3 separate regions of the Homo sapiens genome follow, and all the other regions are linked to region 2. Evidence: promoter capture Hi-C in 16 types of primary human blood cells and fetal thymus (Javierre and others, 2016). All regions are on one chromosome and are shown on one strand. Each heading gives the region's core, a stretch centred on a gene start or on the middle of the fragment in contact. The rest is flanking DNA. Distances are from core to core; before and after follow the strand shown.

What was found. The method cuts DNA at HindIII sites, captures the fragments that hold promoters and counts their contacts. A CHiCAGO score of 5 or more calls a contact.
Region 1: a contact is called between the fragment with the promoter of NAPSA here and the fragment with the promoter of SIGLEC7 in region 2, in 3 of 17 cell types (non-activated CD4 T cells, total CD8 T cells and M0 macrophages). The highest score is 6.8, in non-activated CD4 T cells.
Region 3: a contact is called between the fragment with the promoter of FPR1 here and the fragment with the promoter of SIGLEC7 in region 2, in 13 of 17 cell types (neutrophils, erythroblasts, M1 macrophages and 10 more). The highest score is 15.6, in neutrophils.

Annotation. Positions count from the first base shown.
Region 1 is chr19:50,364,384-50,367,083 of GRCh38, forward strand. NAPSA (napsin A aspartic peptidase) reads right to left here and starts at 1,256. Exons shown (of 9, transcript NM_004851.3): 1 at 1,156-1,256. The coding sequence starts at 1,238. The region is part of intron 3 of LOC105372437 (a long non-coding RNA gene); the gene reads left to right. RefSeq lists an enhancer at 1,457-1,606. The HindIII fragment of the contact is 17,836 bases long and covers 1-2,700 here.
Region 2 is chr19:51,140,989-51,143,688 of GRCh38, forward strand. SIGLEC7 (sialic acid binding Ig like lectin 7) reads left to right here and starts at 1,313. Exons shown (of 7, transcript NM_014385.4): 1 at 1,313-1,814. The coding sequence starts at 1,382. The HindIII fragment of the contact is 9,764 bases long and covers 1-2,700 here.
Region 3 is chr19:51,750,500-51,753,199 of GRCh38, forward strand. It overlaps FPR1 (formyl peptide receptor 1), which reads right to left and starts at 1,379. Exons shown (of 2, transcript NM_002029.4): 1 at 1,315-1,379. The HindIII fragment of the contact is 1,877 bases long and covers 573-2,449 here.

The DNA of each region.
Region 1 (2,700 bases), core at 6-2,505, 780 kb before region 2:
GGTGGGTGGATCACGAGGTCAGGAGATCGAGACCATCCTGGCTAACACTGTGAAACCCCATCTCTACTAAAAATACAAAAAATTAGCCGGGCGTGGTGGCGGGTGCCTGTAGTCCCAGCTGCTTGGGAGGCTGAGGCAGGAGAATGATGTGAACCCGGGGGACAGAGCTTGCAGTGAGCCAAGATTGCGCCACTGCACTCCAGCCTGGGCAACAGAGTGAGACTCAGTCTCAAAAAAAAAAAAAAAAAAAAAGTCCTGAGAGGAGGGGGAGGGGTCCTCAATCTAGAGTCTCAGTGTTGTAAGATCTGGGACTTAAAAGGGCTCTGGGACCGGACGCGGGGGCTCACAGCTGTAACCACAGCACTTTTGGAGGCTGAGGCGGAAAGATCACTTGAGGTCAGGAGTTCAAGACAGCCTGGCAAACATGGCGAAACCCCATCTCTACTAAAAATACAAAAATTAGCCGGGCGTGGTGGCATGTGCCTGTAGTCCCAGCTACTTGGGAGGCTGAGGCAGGAGAATCACTTGAACCCGGGAGGCAGAGGTTGCAGTGAGCTGAGATCGCCCCACTGCACTCCAGCCTGGGTAACAGAGCAAGACTCTGTCTCAAATAATAATAATAATAATAAATAATAATAATAATAATAATAATAATAAAAGGGCTCTGGTCAGCCAGGCGCGGTGGCTCACGCCTGTAATCCCAGCACTTTGGGAGGCCGAGGTGAGCGGATCACGAGGTCAGGGGTTCCAGACCAGCCTGGCCAACATGGTGAAACCCCGTCTCTACTAAAAATACAAAAATTAGCTGAGCATGGTGGCGCGAGCCTGTAATCCCAGCTACTTGGGAAGCTGAGGCAGGAGAATCGCTTGAACCCAGGAGGCAGAGGTTTCAGTGAGCTGAGATCATGCCATTGCACTCCAGCCTGGGCAACAGAGTGAGACTCCATCTCAAAAAAAAGAAATCTGGTCTTAAGAGATGTCAGAGTGGAGCCCTTAGGGGTGACAGCCTGGTTTAGAGATCTGGAAAGCTGAGAAAGAAGCTCTAGGGATCCTGGGTGCCAAGTTTGGGGATCACTGAACTGGGAGTCCTAGACTTAAAGGGCAAGAGGCAGAAAATCCCTCCTAAGGTTGGGGTGGTAGATGGGGTCACCATACCGGATCAGTGTGGCCCCGGAAGGCTCCACATTCAGCAGAGGCAGCAGCAGCAGCAGGGGTTGCAGCAGCGGTGGTGGAGACATCGCTGGGGACCTGGGTGTGAACCCAGGTGTCCTGGGGCCTCATTTTCTTTCCCCTGTGACTCCACCCTGTTCATGCCCCACCTCCAGGTTTAGAAGGAGACCAGGACATGAAATCTGTCCGCAGGTGACGCAGTGGGACAAGGATGTTTTTTGAAGATTTGTGCAGAGTATTTTTGTAGGGTTGGCAGAAGTAGCATCCTGTGCTCCTGGTGCTCCTCACTCCCTACTTGGGTGGCAGTGGTGGTGGGGTCTCCTCCACCGTCACCACCTCCCACCCCCCCATCCTTCAGCTGCTGTCAGTTTTACTTTTAACTTTCACATAACTTTTCTGAGACTTATTAACCACAAGTGTTTCCTTGGCCAAGTGGGAGAGACCAGCAGGTATCTGTGAAGGGCCTGGGGGAAGGGAGAAAGGACATGATTAGACACCTGCCCTCACATATGAAGTGGGCCCGCATTTCAGGACCCAGTCTCTTACTGTTTTATTTGTAGGTGAAGTATGTTTCTTGTTGACAACAGATCATTGGGTATTGTTTTTTGTTTGTTTGTTTTTGTTTTTGTTTTTTGGTTTTTTTTTTTTTGAGACCGAGTTTCACTCTTGTTGCCCAGGCTGGGATTACAGGCATGCGCAACCACGCCCCACTAATTTTGTAGTTTTAGTAGAGACAGGGTTTCTCCATGTTGGTCAGGCTGGTCTAGAACTCCCGACCTCAGGTGATCCGCCCGCCTCAGCCTCCTAAAGTGCTGGGATTACAGGCGTGAGCCACTGCACCCAGCTGATTCTCAATTATTTCAATCTCTTTGTTAAATTTATGTGATGGAATCTGAATTCCTTCTGTGTGTTAGCTTGAATTTCTTTGAGTTTCCTCAAAACAGCTATTTTAAATTCTCTGTCGGAAAGGTCACATATCTCTGTTTCTTCAAGGATTGGTCCTTGGTGGCTTATTTGATTTGTTTGGTAAGGTCATTTATTCTGGATGGCCTTGATGCTTATAGATGTTCATTGGTGGCTGGGCATTGATGAGTTATTTATTTATTTATTTATTTATTTATTTATTTATTTATTTAGATGGAGTTTTGCTCTTGTTGCCCAAGCTGCAGTGCAATGGTGTGATCTCAGCTCACTGCAACCTCTGCCTCCCAGGTGCAAGTAATTCTGCCTCAGCCTCCCGAGTAGCTGGGACTACAGGCACCCGATACCACCCTGGCTAAATTTTTTTTTTTTTTTTGAGATGGAGTTTCACTCTTATTGCCTAGGCTGGAGTGTAATGGCGCCATCTTGGCTCACTGCAACCTCTGCCTCCTGAGTTCAAGCGATTGTCCTGTCTCAGCCTCCCAAGTAGCTGGGATTATAGGCGCATGCCAGCTAGTTTTTGTATTTTTAGTAAAGACAGGGTTTCATCATATTGGTCAGGCTGGTCTCGAACTCCTGACCTCAGGTGATCCACCTGCCTCGGCCTCC
Region 2 (2,700 bases), core at 63-2,562:
GGGCATGGCCAATAGGAAAGGGGAATGTAAGGGTGAATGAATTAATAAAATCTCTTTCTTCATTTCAAGGGACAGACTTGACAGTTCTTTTGTGTTCTAGTTCTTCAAGGGTGCTTATTTTGTGTGAATCACTGAGTTGGTTTTTAGGGGACACTTTTATGTACATGTCTTGTGTTTCTCCCCGCTCAAAAAAAACTGTTTCAAGAAAAGCTGGCCTGGATCTAAGGGGGCTGCAGCTTGCAGGATTTTTCCCACTTCCTCCCAGCCCAGTCACACAGTTTAAAATAATCTTCTGTTGAAGTCAGGTGCGTGTTTCTTCTCTCAGAAAATCGCGCCCATCACTGAGGGTGGACGCCCCGGGGCTGGTGTCTTTGCTCCACGTCTCCTGTTCACCTGAACCCCTAGGAGCAGTTCCTGCAGGAGCAAAGCCCCAGGGCCAGCAGACCCCTCACACTCTGCACTAACCAGGCCTCATGAGATAGCAGTGGTGAAGGGAAATGTCCTTGTGCTCAGAGAGCTGTGAGGATGGGAATAGTGTCTGCTCTTTTCATATTGATCCTTTCCCTTATGACTTTCCTGTCTACCAAGCCCCACAATACAACAATCACAGCCTCAGCTTCCCCGGCCTCCTGCAGGCTGGGCTCCCCTCCGTGTCCTTGGCGTGTATCAACAGGCGCAATCCTCACCTTCACAGCCCCATGTCCGTCTGCTCGGTCCTCCTGAGACTGAACCCCCGACCTAGGGGAGAGTGACCCCACCCTGCCTGTGCCCCCCACTGAAGCTCCTGTCATGGGGAGCTCAAACGTCAGGAGACTCAGTGTCTCCCCACCACACAGTGACTCCTTGGGGACAGTGTCCGGCTCTGCTGTGTTGACCTCATTGTGCAGAAAGGGGGTGCCCACCTCGTGGCTGCTGAGGGAGGGATGAGAGGCTGCCTGTTCACCCCACCTGCACCCCTGTCTCTCATGGCCCCGAGTCCCACTTCTGAGCTACGCAGACATCCACAGCCTGTGACTCAGGGGTCTGGGCAGATGGGAGTTATTTTCACCCTGCAGAAAATATCACCTAAAGGGAAAGGCATTGAGAGGGAGGCAGGAGGTGGGGTGGGCCCTGCATGGGGTGGGAATCTGGGTGAGTCTGTCTCCCGCTCTGGCCTCAGGGACCCAGGAGTGAATGTCGGGTGGTGGACGGTGGATCTCCCAGGGCTGACCCAGCCCTGACAGTGTCTGTGTGTGAAGTTCTTCTTCTAAGGAGGTCACTGTTTTGACCTCACCACCGACTTCCTGTAGGGCCTCTTCTAAGTCTTGAGCCCGCAGTTCCTGAGAGAAGAACCCTGAGGAACAGACGTTCCCTCGCGGCCCTGGCACCTCCAACCCCAGATATGCTGCTGCTGCTGCTGCTGCCCCTGCTCTGGGGGAGGGAGAGGGTGGAAGGACAGAAGAGTAACCGGAAGGATTACTCGCTGACGATGCAGAGTTCCGTGACCGTGCAAGAGGGCATGTGTGTCCATGTGCGCTGCTCCTTCTCCTACCCAGTGGACAGCCAGACTGACTCTGACCCAGTTCATGGCTACTGGTTCCGGGCAGGGAATGATATAAGCTGGAAGGCTCCAGTGGCCACAAACAACCCAGCTTGGGCAGTGCAGGAGGAAACTCGGGACCGATTCCACCTCCTTGGGGACCCACAGACCAAAAATTGCACCCTGAGCATCAGAGATGCCAGAATGAGTGATGCGGGGAGATACTTCTTTCGTATGGAGAAAGGAAATATAAAATGGAATTATAAATATGACCAGCTCTCTGTGAACGTGACAGGTAAGGCACGGGCTCCAAGAGAGGCCAAAGGCAAATGTGATGAGGGCTTTAGGGCACGGCTGAGACGGGACACATGTCCTGGGAGGGGGCCGGGGGTGATGGACTCAGGAGAGGAGCTGGACCAGAGCCTGAGCTTCCCCAGGACCGCACCTTGGATGCCCCTCCTGATCCTGCAGGCCCCTCCCCTCACCAGCCCTGACCCACAGGCCTGACATCCTCATCCTGCCTCTGACGCTGGCATTGTGGCATGTGGGGCCTTATGACTCCTTGTTTTGGGGCCTGTCCTAGGCATGGCCGGGGTTTAGCACCATCCCAGGCCTCTCCCCACCAGATGCCAGAAGCACCCACTCCACCCATGCAGTGAGACAATAACAATTATCTCCACACATTGTTAAACGTCCTGGGGGGTTAAGTCCTCCCCAGTTGAGAGCCTTAGGTCTACACAACCCCGTGACTCTCTCAGGCCAGGCCAGGGAGGAAGCACTTCCTGGCGCAAACCAAGGGCAGCAGAGGCACCTGAGCCTGGACAGGGAGACTCAGCACACGGCCCCTCCATCTCTCATGCCCTGAGGTCCTCGGAGATCCACATTTAGATGCTCAAAAGACAGGAGGGACCTCCACGATGGTCCAGAGGCCGGGAGGGCAGGACCTACGTGTCTGGTGCAGGCCCTGGTGCTCCAGGGAAGCCCGGAGGTAGGAGGTGGGACACGGTCTCTTCTCCTCCCTGGGTGGGTCTCTAGGGTCTCTGAGCTTCAGGGTTTCCTTCACTCTGTGCAGAGGGAACCAGTTCCTATAGCATGTGGGTTTGTAGTTTCTCTTTCGTGCTGGGTTGAGGTCTCCAGCTCCTCTCCAGCCCCTCTCCAGCCCCCTGTGGGTCCCACAGCCC
Region 3 (2,700 bases), core at 129-2,628, 610 kb after region 2:
CTCAGAAACAACTCAGAGATGTCTCCCTCCCCTACCACCCATCCAACCACCAAAATACCCTGAGGACTCTTTGTCCTCAAGAATCTCTAAGGCAACCAGTTCAGAAGATTGTTGCAATGAATGATGAGGATTCTGCAATAATGAGCTGGAACATACCAGAGAGGAAAACCTGTGCAATTTTGTCCAATTATGGTTCAAGGGAAAAATCCTGTGATTTGCAATGAACACAGGCCTTGGTGGCTGCCATCGATGAAGGACTTTATGCTTGATAATCATTGTACCACATCCTCAACTTTCTTGCCTCTGATCTCAACAAACTCAGCATTGATTATACATCATCATCCCTGTGTGACGGAAGAGGAAACTAGGAGCTTGATGAGAAATGACAGCCAATGTCTGCAGATTCATGAGAGGGCAGGGCTGTATTCCGCTACTGGGTCCTATGCACCATGCAGAACCAGTGTCTTCACGTGGAGACTCATCACTGATCCGAAAGGTGACTGCTTCTGTATTACACTCATTTCCCCATGACCCATCATAAAGTCGTTAGGGCTCTTTTGCTTTCTCCTGAAAGCTTCAAACCAAACATCCTTTCCCATCCCGACTCAAGCCCTCAAGCTGATGCCCTTGCCTCTTGCTCCACCAGATTCTCCTCCTGCTGGCTCCTGCATCACTGTTCTCTGCCCTCATCTCTGTAACCAGAAAACAAGTGTTTCCATCCAAGAATTACCCTCTACTGGTCCCATAAAACTCATTCCCCCATTTACTCAAGAACTTCCCTCCTTCACTTATCCCTTCTCTCTCCTGCAGCCTCATAGTGTCTCTATATTCCATCATTCCCATCAGGACCCCAATAAAGTCTAGAGCCTATTTGTTTATTTATTTATTTACTTATTTATTTGAGATGGAGTCTCACTCTGTCACCTAGGCTGGAGTACAGTGGTGCAATCTGAGCTCACTGCAACCTCCACCTCCCAGATTCAAGCAATTCTCCTGCCTCAGCCTCCCAAGTAGCTTGAATTACAGACGCCCACCACCACGCCTGGCTAATTTTTGTATTTTTAATAGAAGTGAGGTTTCAACATGTTGGCCAGGCTGGTCTCGAACTCCTGACCTCAAGTTATCCACCTGCCTTGGCCTCCCAAAGTGCTGGGATTACAAGCATGAGTCACCGTGCCCGGCCTGTTTAGAACCTCTTTAAAAAAATTATTCTTCAACTCCACATCCTTCTTCAAACAAAGAGTCTATTGTGTTCACCAGTGTATTAAGTGTGTCTATGTCAAGCTACCCAGTCCCCCAGAATATGTTTCTTACCTGGACTGTTCACCAGCTGTGGTCTTGCTCTGGGTAGTTCTAGGTCTGGGTCTCCTGGGGAGAGTGACTCAGGCTCTAATGATTGCAGCAAAACATACACCAAGGAACAGGAGGAGGGGTAAAGGAACTAAAACCAGCTGGGTAGCAGGAAATAGGAAGTCTGAGCTTCTTCTGATTTTTGATGGCCCCAAGAATACACCAATATACTGTCTGCTTTAATGGCATTAGGACAGTGGGCTGGGCCTGTTTAGAAACTCATGTACCTGACTGTATTTCTCAGCCTCAGTCTCTGTGGGATGCAGAGGTTCAGTGCTCTCAACAACAAGGGCCAAGAAATCCAAGTGTCCGGGCCCCTGCTCCCTCCAAGGGTCAAGGTAAAGAAAGCAGCAAGCACTGTGGTGAGAAGAATCAGAGGGAGGCAATGAAAGGAAGAGAAGAAGTCATGAGGGATGGAGACCAGAAACACAGAGAGAGGTAAGGGAGTGGGGGAAGTTGAGACAGTTGGCAGGACAGCGCGTCCACACCCATGCACACCACCAAGATTAACCCCATAATCCTCTGATCTTGTGGAAGCTCATTTGTAGTCTTCTAGCCCAAAGAAATAACCGTTTTTCTGAAATGTTAAGCATCCTTCCAAGGGTATCAGAGTGATATGGAGAAATATGGTAAGACAGTTACAGAATCAGAGATAACGACACTGATTCTAAAAGCATTATTACCAAGGCATTGTTGCATTAAGACTGTTTTTTCTTTTCTTTTAGAGACAGTATCCTGCTACGTTGCCCAGGCATGTCTCAGACCCCTGGGTTTAGTGATCCTCCTGCCTCAGCCTCCCCAAATGCTGGGATTACAGGCATGAGCCGGGCTGTTTTTAATTCTAAGTAATTTATAATTTACAATTACACCTAACAATGGCTTCAACAAGGGGTGTCCAATCTTTTGCCTTCCCTGGGCCACACTGGAAGAAGAAGAATTGTCTTGGGCCACACATAAAATACACTAACACTAACGATACCTGATGAGCTAAAAAAAAAAAAAAAAAAAAAAATCCCCCAAAAATCTGATAATGTTTTAAGAAAGTTTATGAATTTGTGTTGGGCTGCATTCAAAGCCATCTTAGGCCATGGGCTGGACAAGCTTAGCTTAGAACCAAGACGAAATTTATGGTTTACTTTACAAGAATTTTGCAAGAGGGTAATACTAGGTTAGGTTATATCTGGAAAATATCATCAAGAACTACATTCATTTTAATCTTTTCTCTTTTTTATCCCTAATATGGTGACTTTTTTTCCTGGGGATTGCCACTTCATGGCTCCAAGAAAGCTACCACAGCTCCTGACTTCACATTACAGCAGGGGTCCCCAACCTCCAGGCCATAGACCAATA